3 separate regions of the Homo sapiens genome follow, and regions 1 and 2 are each linked to region 3. Evidence: promoter capture Hi-C in 16 types of primary human blood cells and fetal thymus (Javierre and others, 2016). All regions are on one chromosome and are shown on one strand. The core of a region is centred on a gene start or on the middle of the fragment in contact, and the rest is flanking DNA. Distances in the headings are between cores, read along the strand shown. Region 1 has its middle 22 kb from the start of MIR4730. Region 2 holds the start of NPTX1 (neuronal pentraxin 1). Region 3 holds the start of CHMP6 (charged multivesicular body protein 6).

Region 1 (4,158 bases), core at 397-2,896, 550 kb after region 3:
CTCTCCTCCTCCTGGCTCTGAGACACTCTGTCACCCTCTCTTAAAATGAACTCTTCTCCCAGCTCTGTGATGCTGTCCCCTCCTTACCGCCTTAAAATGAATTCTTCTCTCCTCCCAGCTCTATGATGTTCTGTGCCCCCCACTTTTAGAACAAACTCTTCTCTCCTCCTCCCAGCTCTGTGATGCTTTGTCCCCCCGTTACCCCCTTAGAATGAACTCTTCTCCCAGCTCTGTGATGCTGTCCCCCGCCCACCCCCTTAAAATGAACTCTTCTCTCCTCCCAGCTATGATGCTCTCTCTGTCCCCCCACCACCTTTAGAATGAACTCTTCTTTCCTCCCTGTCCTGAGGATGCTGTTACCCATCTTGCTGACTGCAGAGACCACACAAGACAGGGACACCTGTCTGCAGTCTGCACGTGTGTCCCTCCCTAACCTCAGCCCTCAGTCACCTCTCCCATCCGTGCCTGGTCCAGGTCTGACATGCAGGTGACTGTGGAATGAATGAATGAATGGACAGAGACAGGTACAGGCAAGAGTGGTGCGCCGAGCACGCGAGGCATGACTGCAGAAGCTGCCACCAGTGTAGCCGCAGCCGGTGTCACACCGTCCCTGGGGGGGTGGAGGAACTGCCCTGCTCTGGGCTCCACAGGCCCTTTCTCTCATTCCTGGCCCTGCTGGACGCAGCGACGGTGGGTTGGATGAACTGCCCTGGGTTAATTGGCTCTCTCTTCCTGCCAGCATGATGGATCCTGCTTGACATTTCCCCAGATAGTTAATTGATAACCAAGTAATTTGTCATGGAGACCTCATTATATGCCAACTGGGTCCCCTAAGCCGTTAGCGTCTGTGCCCCAGAAACAAGATTGGCAAGTTAATAATGGAGGCTTAATCACGCTGTTCTCTGCTGGCACCGGAATAGAATTACCTGGAGACAAGATGGGACACTGTTGCTCTCCTTGGGCCTTGGAGATGAAGCTTTATGAGAGATCCTGAAGCCACTGACCCTTCTTGAGAAGGTCACCTGACCTCGGTTTTCTCAACCAGGTGTTCCTTCTCCTGGCAAGAGTGCTGTTCTACTGAGAAGTCCCCCTCTCCACAAGGTGCACTGAGGCTGCTCCAGGCCCTAGCTCTGCACTGGGCACTTGGCCCCCCGACCCCAGGCCACAGTGAGGGGTTCAGGGGAAGGCATGTGACTCAAGCCTGGCCAGCCAACAAGTGTCGGCGTGGGGCCTTCGCTGGGGCCACTGGGGCCGCTGGAACAGCAGGGCTCACTCTGCCAAGGATTGTTATGTGGGTGAGGAAGTGAGGCTGGGCTGATGAGGGAGCAGCCTCCCGGAGAGGGAGGGAGCCAAGGCCAGGCCATGCAGGGCGGCGCTGCCTCCTGGAGTGAACTAACGAGGTCCCAGCTTTGCTTAAGTTGGTTTTTGTCACATGTAACCTGGAGAGTTCTGATTATACACAAGGGAGCTCCACTCAGACACCCACCTGCTGCAACTCCAGGATTCAAGCTGTCTGCCAGGGCTGCGGGGAGGAGCCCCCTGGGGAGGAAGACCACCTGGTACAGAAAGGCAAGGCCTGGGAGAGATGGCCTGGGCTGGGACGAGGGCTGGGGTCGGCAGTCTTGAGGAGGGCCTGGGGTCTGCTCCCCAGGGGGTCTTGGGCAGGAATGGAGGCGAAGCAGGGCGGAAGCTGAAGAGGAGTGAGGCTGGAGGAGAGGCTCCGGCCCCAGCCTTGACTTCAGCACCAAGGACAGCGGCAGCACACTTCCCGTGCAGTGAGGCAGGCCCAGCGCAGCCCCCGACAGTGAGGCGGGCCCAGCGCAGCCCCCTACAGTGAGGCGGGCCCAGCGCAGCCTGGCCTGGATGTTTTTAATTTTAAAAATATCTTTTATTTAAAACTAAATAGTGATGGAGATGGGGTTTCGCTATGTTGTCAAGTTGGTCTCGAACTACTGGGCTCAAGCAATTCTCCCGCCTCGGCCTCCCAAACTGTTGGGATTACAGGCGTGAGCCACTGTGCCCAGATGGGCCGGATGTTTTTAATGAACCAAAAGGAGATTTATACTTCCATGGCAGGGTTTGGGGATAAATAAGTAATGGGTACACAGAATATCAACCCAATCCCCTAAATGAGGCAATTATTAAGTCCAGGAAAAATAAGTGGTTGTACAAGAAAGGAAATGTAATTACAATACATTACTCAGCTGGGAAGAGTGTGTGCTGAGAAATAATAGTGCATACATTGAATTCTGATTCAATCAAAAGGAGAAGCTGGTGGGAGAGTGTGGGGGGGCACGTGTGAGAGAACAAGCTTTCAGCCGCCATCGTGGGAAGGACATGGGTAAATTTCTCAATCTGAAAAGGAGAAAAAAAAAAGCAGCACCAGCAGCAACATGAGCATGGCTATTCGGAAGTAAATACCAAAGAGAATCAGCTACAATCACAGAAAAGGTTGCCTCTGAGAAGGGGGAATCAGGAAAGAGGTGTGGTTTTTCGTCAGAAGCCTTGTAGTACTATTCGATTATTAAAACTGTCAATTTATGATGTTGATTAAAAGCATACATGAAATGTAGGCAGGGAGCGGTGGCTTATGTCTGTAATCCCAGCACTTTGGGAGGCTGAGGCGGGTGGATCATTGAGGTCAGGAGTTCGAGACCAGCCTGGCCAACATGGTGAAACCCCGTCTCTACTAAAAATACAAAAATTGGCTGGGTGTGGTGGCGGGCGCCTGTAATCCCAGCTACTCAGGAGGCTGAGGCAGGAGAATTGCTCGAACCCGGGAGACAGACGTTGCAGTGAGCCAAGATTGCTCCATTGCACTCCAACCTCAGCGATAGAGCGAGACTCCGTCTCAAACAACCAAAAATACATGAATGTAAGTAACTAAAAAACAAAACCAAAAATTCTCAAGCTGCTCCCCGCTCCCAGCTCTCTGTCAGGCCCAGGCAACCCCAGGGTAGGGCCCCGAGGCCTGTCCTGTCTTCCTGGATTCTGCACCTCCTCCCCGGCCCCTCTCGGCCCTCCTGTGCTCCCTCCATGCCCCTCTCTGGGCTGCTCCGGGTCTATCTGTGGATTTGTCCTGGTCCTCATCCCTCCTGCCTTAGCCTGCCTCCCACCTTGCCTGCCCCTTTCTGCACTTTACTCCCTTTTGGGTTCTGCCCATGGCAATCAGAGGGGAAGGGGTGCCTGTCCCTGGGGGAGGAGCCCAGCCCTGTCCACAGGGCCCGTGGCACCCGCAATAGCTGTCAGCTGGCCCCTTTAGCCACACCCCTACTGGCCCCACACCAGCCGCCCATGGTGGTAGGACACAGAGAAGTTGCTCCTGCTTGCCGGGGAGGTGAATTGGGGCTAGCAGGCTGTACTCCATCATCTCCATGACACCTCGCCTAATTACACTGCGTGCTATTCATCTGGATGTCAGCGCTGCAGCATGGCTTTGCCCTTAATTAATAATTTGGTAAAACTCCACTCGGGGCCTGGCCAGGGAAGTTCAGCAGGGACTGCTAAGGCTGGGCTGCTGCCGGGGTTGGGGGGCCAGGCTGGTGAGCACTTCCCCGCCAGCAAGTGTGGGCTCCCCCAAACATTCCCAGGTGGCACCCCTTCACCCTGAGTTCCTGTTTGAAAGACCAGAGCCTGGGGGGAGACAGGGATGGGTGAGGGGTGTCTGCAGCTTGGGCACTGCCCCTGGAGGAGAGGGTGACTCAGGCCTCAGGGCACCCGTCAGATACCCCTTCCTGCCCCAAACACCACAGCTTATTCTAAAAGCATCGGTCCCACTGATAAGAGGCTCAGAGAGGCGAGGTGGCTTACCCAAGCACACACAGCACACAAGTACAGAGGCCTTGGTCTGGAACCCAGGGCCCTGGTTGCCTGTGCACAGCCACTTCCACCAGGACAAGGAGCCCCAGGCCAGGCCCTTCAGGGACTCTTCCGCAGAGGAGGCAGGACACAGGCCCTGGGGTGGGCGTGTACCAGCTACCAGGGTGTGAGGGGCGAGGCTGGCTCTCCTGGAGCTCATGCTGCCCTTGGCCCTGGAGGACGGGGCCCCCATGAGAGGTGCGTGGCTCAGGTCAGATGCTGTGCAAGGGGCCAAGGCCCAGCTCAGACCCAGATTCAAATAGTCCAATGCCTGTGGCCAGAGCAGGGGTGGGGCTTGGG
Region 2 (4,370 bases), core at 317-2,816, 520 kb after region 3:
AAGGAGACAACGAGAACGCAGCCCCGGCTCAGGGAGGCTTAAAAGCTGAGATGCTGAACGCAGACGGCGGGCGCTCGGGGGCTGGGGGGCGGGTAGAGGCCGCCATTTCTCAAAAAGGTCTCCATCGAGCCGGCCTCTGCTCCCGCCCGAGGGGCGGACGCCCGATCCCGGCACCCGGGACTGCCCGTGGGTCCCTGCTGGCTGGGGACCCCCAGCCCCCGGCTGCGCGCAGGGAAAGGCTGCAGAACGCAGAGACCAGAGAAGCCGGGGGCGGCGGGGAGGGGTCGGGGGGCCACGGCTGTAGCCCGGCCCCGCAGTCTCGGAGCCTCAGTTTCCTTCTCTGTACCACGGGAGCGTGGACGGAGGGATTTCCGAGGCTTTGACCGCTCTGATAGCCCCGGGGCGGGGCGGGGCGGGGCGGCTGCGCCAGCCCTGGTCCTGAGCCCCCAGCCCGGCGCCGGAACCCGGACCGCGATCTCGGGAGCCGAGCCCCGCGGTCCAGATGAAGGCGCGAGTGCGCGGGTGCCGGGTGGGGTGTCTGAGCGAGAGCGGAGCTTCTCAGGTGGACGCCCCCAGCCACCTCCGGGACCCTTCCTGCTGGCCTTTGGGCCTGAGAAGTGGGCGCGGCTGGACAGACGGGAAACAGCCCCCCACGCACAGGTGGACACCCGGGGATACCGGGCGCGCGCGGCGCCTGGCAAGGGGAAGCTGCTGGAGACGCGGGCGGCTGCTCCCGCGGGGCCCCCTTCCGAAGCGCCGCTGCGAACGTCCAGCCCCGGCGACGCCGCCTGCCCGCGATCGGGCCGGCGCCGCGGACAGGAAAGGCTCGATCAGCTAGGTCTGCCTCCGAGAAGTCCCCAGCGCCCCGCCCGCACGGGGTGGGGACTGACAGTCCCCCGGGGACGGGGCCGGGTCCACAGAGCCCGGGAGCTGGGGGAGGGGAGGCGCCGGGGGCCCCGACCCGTGGGAAGTCCCTGTACCCAGGCTGCCCGGCGGCTTCTCAATAGCACACGGACATCTAAGAAACGCGGGGCGGCCCGGTGACCCCCGCTCTGGACTTAGTGGCGCCGCGAGGCCCCACTCCGAGCCGTTGACCACCGGGCACTCGGGTGTTGACGACCTGGGTCCTTGGGCACCCAGCCCGGCTCCAAACGACCCCGGCCCAAGGGTGTTCAGTGCAGCCAGGAGGGCCGAACCGAATTCTATCTCCCGGACGCGGTGGTTTCCCGCCCGCCTGGAGCCCCGTCGGAGGTTCGGGGACACCACGCAGGTGGTCCATCCTCGAGTCCGGGGCCGGAGCCCGACTTCCTTCCCCCTGAGCTCTCGGAGCCTTCGGGGCAGCAGCGCCGGCCCAGGCGGGGGCGGGGGAGGAGGGGGCCGCGGCAGCTCCCAGAAGGGCGGGGGGGACGCGAGCGGAGGCAGCCCCGGTGGCGCGCTCGTGAGACCCCCGCCGCGCCGCGGGCCCGGGCCGCGGACAATTAAAGCGGGATTCCTCCCCCGCTGACGTCGGCGGCTCGAGGCCCCTCCCGCGGCGGCATAAAAGGCGCGGGCTCCGCAGCGCAGGCGGCAGTGGGGGCCTGATAGCGCGGCGGTGTGGACCGCGCGGCCGAAGAGCGCGGCGCCCAGAGCGCGGGCCGCTCGCGGAGCCACAGCCCGAGCCGGGTCCCAGCCGGAGCCGAGCCCCAGCCGAGCCGAGCCGGGCCCGGAGCGCCCGGTGCCCGCAGCCATGCCGGCCGGCCGCGCCGCGCGCACCTGTGCGCTGCTCGCCCTCTGCCTCCTGGGCGCCGGGGCCCAGGATTTCGGGCCGACGCGCTTCATCTGCACCTCGGTGCCCGTGGACGCCGACATGTGCGCCGCGTCCGTGGCCGCCGGCGGCGCCGAGGAGCTCCGGAGCAGCGTGCTGCAGCTCCGCGAGACGGTGCTGCAGCAGAAGGAGACCATCCTGAGCCAGAAGGAGACCATCCGCGAGCTGACCGCCAAGCTGGGCCGCTGCGAGAGCCAGAGCACGCTGGACCCCGGAGCCGGCGAGGCCCGGGCGGGCGGCGGCCGCAAGCAGCCCGGCTCGGGCAAGAACACCATGGGCGACCTGTCCCGGACACCGGCCGCCGAGACGCTCAGCCAACTCGGGCAAACTTTGCAATCGCTCAAAACCCGCCTGGAGAACCTCGAGGTCCGCGCGCGCCCTCGGCTCCGGTTCCCCCTCCGGCTCGCTCGCCCCTCTGCCCTCCCCCACCCCGTTCCCTACCCGGCCAGGCATCCCCCGCCCTCGCCTCAGCCGCGCGGGTGCCCGGCCGGTGCCTCCCCGCGCCTGCGAGGCCCCGCGGCGGCCACTCGCCCCAGCTCCCTGCCAGGCCGCCCCCGCAGTCGCCCAGAGGGGACCGCGCCGCGGGCCTTCCAGCACGGTCCCCGCGCCTCGCCTAACGGTGTGGTTTCCCCCGCCCTTGCACCCCGCAGCAGTACAGCCGCCTCAATTCCTCCAGCCAGACCAACAGCCTCAAGGATCTGCTGCAGAGCAAGATCGATGAGCTGGAGAGGCAGGTGCTGTCCCGGGTGAACACCCTGGAGGAGGGCAAGGGGGGCCCCAGGAACGACACCGAGGAGAGGGTCAAGATCGAGACCGCCCTGACCTCCCTGCACCAGCGGATCAGCGAGCTCGAGAAAGGTACTGGGGCCAGGGGGAGCCGTGCTGCCTGCCTGCACCTGCTTGCCCGACCCTGCCTCGGTCCCGATCCCTAACAGCCCAGCTCTGCACTGTGCAAGCCTCAAGCCGCTCCGCTACCCCCAACCCCTGCACCGCTTTCTCATTCCCCGCACCCCTTCCCAGGTTCTGGGCTTCTAGTCGGTGTTTCTATCAGGGCTGGGTGCCTTGGGCTGGGGCTGTCTCTGGGAAAGGGGATTGCATAGTGCCCCCTCCCCCATCCAGACACACTCACACACTCGCTGGATTTTTCAAGTCTGATTTGTTTAATCCTCAGTAACTTTGCACAGTGGCTGTCGCTGGCTCAAACCCTCCCTGCTTAAGAAAGCCTGTCTCTCCCTGGTCCCCAGCCTCAGCGTACAGCTGGGTGCAGGCTGGGGCTGGGCGCTCTCGTTCCCCGGGCCGCTGAGGCTGTTAAGCAGGTTTCTTCCCGGCTGCCATGCCCCCGGTGTCCTCTCAGGATCTCCAGCTCCTCCCCACTTCTGTCCTGAACCCCTACCCTGAGGTTTTCTTTTCTGAGTGACCCAAGTCCTGGCATCTTTCAAATCCCTGAGGTTTCTCAGTCACCAACTCAGGCCAGCCAGTCTATCACCCAGGGCGCCTGGATGAGCGCTGGAGGCTCTGTCTTGAAGTCGCAGAAATCAAACAAGGTTGTAAAAGGGGAGGGGGGGGGGTGCCCGGTGCGGAGCAAGGCCACGTGACCCTGCTCAGACCGCAAAATGTGCCGGACAGATTTAAACAGTGCCATCTTAAGGCTTGTTATGTAACTGAAAAACAGATCAGAAGGAAGGACCTCAGGAGGGAGGGAGAGGGAAGGAGCGGAGATTGGGGAATGAAAAACACCCGGAGAAAGGCCAGGGGCTGGGCCCCTCCCTATCCCCCACTGCAGGCCTCAATGGGTTGGGGTAGCCGCTGGGGTGCTGCACTGAGGGGGCCTGCCCTGCTCTGCTCCCTGCCAGTTGGTTTAGAGGAGGGGGTGGTTGCTGACCGGGCAGGATGTCTTCTAGAAATAATTTTTGGCCTGGGGAACTGGTTTCTTTCTGGGCTTCCTGGCAGGACCACGGCTGCTCACCCAGGGATTGACCAAGGGGTGTGTGTTCCTGGGCTCTGGGCCTGCTACTGTGCCCATTGCTGGCCAGGAATGTTTTGCCTGGAGTCAGTCACACCATACCCAGGGTGCCACAGTATATAGATGGGCTATGGGGGTTGGCGCTTACGGGAGAAGTGGCCGGTGGGGAGGGAGAAGGTGGGCCTTGTGGAAAGGGAGGCCACCAGGCCTGGAACCTGAGCTGTGAGGACACTTACTCACCTGAGAGTGTGGCGGCATCCTAGAGCAGTCACCTTGGGGAGCCCTGGCGCCCAGAGTACTCCCAGCTCCTTGCTGCCCTGCCCTCTCAGCAGAGCTCCAGGCAGAGTCCCTGCTCCAAGGAAGGGCCTTGGAGGTGGGGAGCTGCCCAGCCTCACACCCAAGAGGCATTGGTGGGTCAGAGGCACATCTGGCCTGGAGGGAAGTGTGTGGGCACCAGGGCCTGGCTGTCGGGTGGGGAGAGGCAGGAGCAGAGCCTGGGATTGAGCGAGGAGAGGCTCTGAGCCCCGCCCCATCCTGGAATCAGGTCGGTTACTCTCAGGGTAGCTAGCCTCGTTCCTCCTCTGCAGCCACCCCTGCTCCTTG
Region 3 (4,436 bases), core at 1,169-3,668:
GCTCAGGTCAGGGAGCAGCTGCCAGGACCTCAAAGGTTTGGACTCGGCTGGGCGCAGTGGCTCACGCCTGTAATCCCAGCACTTTGGGAGGCCGAGGCGGGCGGAGCACGAGGTCAGGAGATCGAGACCATCCTGGCTAACATGGTGAAACCCCGTCTCTACTAAAAATACATAAAAATATTAGCCGGGTGTGGTGGCGGTGCCTGTAGTCCCAGCTACCTGGGAGGCTGAGGCAGGAGAACAGCGTGAACCCGGGAGGCAGAGCTTGCAGTGAGCCGAGAGTATGCCACTGTGTTCCAGCCTGGGTGACAGAGTGAGACTCCATCTCAAAAAAAAAAAGTTCCGACTCAAGAACATGCAGGTGGCGAGTACCCAAGTGCCACCAGCCACACGGCCAGGACAGGGCTCAGACATCCCCCCGGCTTCTCTCCTTGCGCTTCAGCCGCATGAGATGCCTGTGGCTTCCCTGCCCCTTTGCCAACCATCCGGCTGCAGGGACACCCACTCGGCCCCGCTGACCGCCTCTCATCTGTGTGCCGTCCCAGAGAGGGCACTCGGCCACTGAGGAACTTCAGCCAGTCCTGCTCTATCAGGTCCTTAAGTTTTCCAAACGTCATCACTTCAGACAATGCTGAGCCCGTGCAGGCACAGGGATTATGGCCTTAAGGCAGGAGGCTGAGGAGAATTAGCTCAGTCAGGGCCTGTGTGCCTCTTTAAGACTCCGCATGGGAAGCCAGTGCTCCCTCTACCTGAGAGGGCTCATTCCCGGTTCCCTCCACCCACGGAGTCTCCCCCTCGCCGTGCCAAGGCCTGTGGGTCCTCTCGTTGCTACAGTGAAAGGTGCCCCCTGCCCAGCCCCACTGCTGGGGAGACCCAGGGGCCAAAGGCAGGCAGGTGTGGCCAGGCTGCCCCCCTGTAAAACAAGGTCTCAGTGGAGGGTCACAGGCCACGTGGGGAACACCTGTTATCCTAGAAAAACAGAAAAAAAAAAGCAATCATTTGTGCTAGTGTGTGCTAAGGATGCTGTTCCCAAGCACCCAAAATCCCAGGGAGACCTACGGCAGCCCGCAACACGGGTCTGCACAGCCGAGAGCCCACAGTGACCCTTGGCAAGTGGAAAGCTGTGCTTGAAGAGAAACCGGAGCTGAGTCCTTAAAGAGAGGGGAGGGAGTGCCTTGGGGCTGGCAGGGTAGGTGGAAGGTGGACGATGGAGGCTGGGTCCAGCTGTCTTGCAGGCAGCTCGGGACGGTGCCCAGCGCTGTGCCCATCTTCTCTAGGGACAAATGTGCCCGTTGTTTCTTTTCACAGCTTATGGACTCAGATGCCAACGTAAGATTCCCTCTTTCATTTACATTCGCTTCTCTTTTAGTATAAAATTAACCTATTTCTGTTGCACAAAATTTAGAAAAGAAAGCATCCGAAAAAGCTAGCCCTGCTTTCATTTCGGGGTCTCTTTCGTGACACGTTTATCTCGTTACAAAAATGGACTATTCTTAACCCGCCCTGTCCCTGACATGCCAGGCGATTCCTCCTCCTACAGAAGCTAACTTTCACATGGGAAAAGGCACCACCACCGGCCCGGCTGTGCCCCGGGGGGTCAGTCTGGAGTCGCCGCAAACAAACGCGCCAAACACGGTGGTCCCGTACCCAGGCGCTGCGGAAGCCCGGCAGGACCCCGGCAGGACCCCGGCAGGCGTTCGGCGCACCTGTCGGCCGCTCCTCGGACCAGGGCAGACTTCCTTCCAGTCCTGGCCTGGATGGGGTGAGGGAGAGGGGATGCCCCGCGCTGCCTCGCGAAGCCGGCAGCACCGCCGGGGCTCCGGCCCAGGGCACCAGGAGGCAAATGAGCCGCGGGACGGGGGCGGGGGCAGCGACTCCGGGAGAGCCGGGACCTGCTCCCGCGGGCCCAGAGCCAGGGAAAGCCCAGCGCCGCGCGGACCCCACGGACGGGCCGCCAGGCTGTGGCCGAGCCCCGAACGCCGGCGTCGAATCCCGCAGTCACCAGCCGCGCCCACCCCGGCGGGGCTCGCAGAGGCGGACGCGCGGGCCCCGGGGAAGACGGCAGCCACGGCGCCGCGCAGGAGACCCCGGCCCGAGGCCCCGCGGGCGAGGAGGGACGCAGGGCGGAGAGACCGAGGGGCCCGGCTGCGCGCTGCGCCTCAGTTTCCCCATCCGAACGCGGGGGGCCGAGGGCGCGGGGCTCTTCCGGCCCCGCCGCCCGCCCCGGCCCCGTCGCCTGTCCCGGCCCCAGCCCTGACCCCGGGCCCGGGCCCTCACCAGGATGGCCTTGTCCTGCTCCGTGACGCGGCTCTGCTTCTTGCGGCCGAACAGGTTACCCATGGCGGCGCCCGCCCCTGGCCCGGGACCCACCAAGTCCAATCGCCACCGCCGCCCCGCGGCCACCGTAGCTCGGGTCCTCCCGCTACGGCGGCCGCGCCGGGCCAGGCGCCGCGGAACGCGAAGGCCGAGCGCCGCCTCCGGCCGCGCGCCGTTGCCGCGGGTTCGAAACCACAGCCCGCCGGTCTCGGCGACCGCCGCGAACACCGCGGCCTCCTTGGACCGGTACGGAGAAGTGGCACGGATACCTGGATGTTAGGGCCCGCGATGTTCGGGCCCGGGATGTTCTAAATGACGTGTTTCCGTGCACCCTTCCTGTGCAGGTGAAGGCAAAAATTTCTTATCTCCTAATTAGGTGGGATCCTTTTAGATTAACATAATTCAGTCTCCCCAGGCTTTCAGGAATCTTGTGCAGGAATCACTGTCCCACTGGCTCTGAACACAAAATGCCGCATTAATGATGTGATATCCAACGTTTTGCACTTTTTTTTTTTTTTTTTTTTTTAGATGGAGTCCTGCTCTGTCGCCCAGGGTGGAGTGCAGGGGCGCTATCTCGGCTCACTACAAACTCTGCCTCCCGGGTTCAAGTGATTTTCCTGCTTCAGCCTCCTGAGTAGCTGGGACTACAGGTGCCTGCTGCCACACCCGGCTAATGTTTGTTAGTAGAGACGGGGTTTCACCATATTGGCCAGGCTGGCCTTGAGCTCCTGACCTTCTGATCCACCCACCTCGGGCTCCCAAAGTGCTGGGATGACAGGCGTGAGCCGCCGCACCCGGCCCGCTTTGCACTTTAAAATGTTCCCTGAAATGCGACCAGCAGCGCCCTCCACCCAGCCTTTCAGCCCTGGGATCTTCCCTCTTCCACTGCGCTGCTCCCTGTCTGTAGATCAGTGCCAGGAGGAGACCAGCATGGCTGGGCTCAGCTTCTCCTTCCAAGGAATCGTGGCTGCGTCCCCCACAGAAGCATTCTTCCCTGGGGGGCTAAGAAACACATGAATGGGGATAAAGGGTAAAAGGGAGAAGCCACCCCGGTTCCCGCCTGAGTATCCTGACTGTGGTTCCTGAGCATTCACTAAGTGTCAAAGAAAAGCACTCAGCTGAGGATGGCTTGAGGCCAGGAGTTCAAGACCAGCCTGGCAACATAGCAAGACCCCCGTCTCTACAAAAAATATAACAAATAACATCAAAAGGAGAATAATTATCACCTGTTCCAAACCTCTGGACTCCAGAACCTTCACTGAGGTGAGGGGGCCCCTGAATTTTTGTGGGGTTCATCTCCCACCCTCTGATTTGTCTCACCAAGACATCTGAAGTACTTTTTTCCTTGGTGTCCATGGGGACGTTGAGGAAAAAAAAAAAAAAGACTTGCTACTCCCTGCTCCTCATGAAGGGGGAAGGAAGAGCTGGGTAGAGGAAGGCGTGATCCTTGGCTAGGGATCCCCCCACCGCCTGTGCCCACAAACCTAGGTGAGGACAGGGATTTTTGTTTTCCTGCCCAAATGTTGCATTTCCAAAGACCACCCTGGCCTGCCACGCCCCCATCCTGTCCCTATAAAATCCCCGAGACTCTAGCAGACTCCATCTGGCCAGGTGTGGTGGCTCACGCCTGTAATACCAGCACTTTGGGAGGCTGAGGTGGGTGGATCACCTGAGGTCAGGAGTTCGACATCAGCCTGGCCTCACATAGTGGACCGTGTCTCTACAAAACTACAAAAGTTAGTGGGGCATGGTGGCATGCACCTGTAATCGCAGCTACTTGGGAGGCTGAGGCAGGAGAATCGCTTGAACTTGGGAGGTGGAGGTTGCAGTGAGCTGAGATCACACCACTGTACTCCAGCCTGGGCGACAGTGTGATACTCTGTCTCCAAAAAAAGAAAAAGAAAAAGAAAAGGAATTGGAATCCATTTGATGCCAGTGTCTTGTCATTCCTGAGACGCTTGAGTATTTCCCTCCCTCTGTTACACAGTTACTTTGGTAAACAGGTACAGGTCCCTTTGGGGGACTCTTCCCGTGGCTTTGCTGCTGTATTCCTTGCAGCAATGCTTCAGGGGTCTCCCTCAAGGAACCTGGCCCCCAACTCAAGGGCTCCAGGTCTGTGA

The links. Contacts are between HindIII fragments. The CHiCAGO score rates a contact against its expected background, and 5 or more counts as called.
Region 1: a fragment that was not itself captured here is called in contact with the fragment with the promoter of CHMP6 in region 3 in 2 of 17 cell types (naive CD8 T cells and naive B cells); the score reaches 7.1 in naive CD8 T cells.
Region 2: the fragment with the promoter of NPTX1 here is called in contact with the fragment with the promoter of CHMP6 in region 3 in 3 of 17 cell types (endothelial precursors, activated CD4 T cells and total CD4 T cells); the score reaches 6.9 in endothelial precursors.

Annotation. Positions count from the first base shown.
Region 1 is chr17:80,438,868-80,443,025 of GRCh38, reverse strand. No RefSeq gene overlaps it. Among named protein-coding and RNA genes, the nearest start is that of MIR4730, 22 kb to the right of the region's middle. RefSeq lists an enhancer at 888-1,554. The HindIII fragment of the contact is 1,335 bases long and covers 979-2,313 here.
Region 2 is chr17:80,473,803-80,478,172 of GRCh38, reverse strand. It overlaps NPTX1 (neuronal pentraxin 1), which reads left to right and starts at 1,566. Exons shown (of 5, transcript NM_002522.4): 1 at 1,566-2,170; 2 at 2,455-2,662. The coding sequence starts at 1,727. RefSeq lists an enhancer at 2,579-3,112. The HindIII fragment of the contact is 19,396 bases long and covers 1-4,370 here.
Region 3 is chr17:80,989,823-80,994,258 of GRCh38, reverse strand. CHMP6 (charged multivesicular body protein 6) reads right to left here and starts at 2,418. Exons shown (of 8, transcript NM_024591.5): 1 at 2,278-2,418. The coding sequence starts at 2,340. RefSeq lists silencers at 1,716-1,905, 1,916-2,065, 2,196-2,525. The HindIII fragment of the contact is 12,121 bases long and covers 1-4,436 here.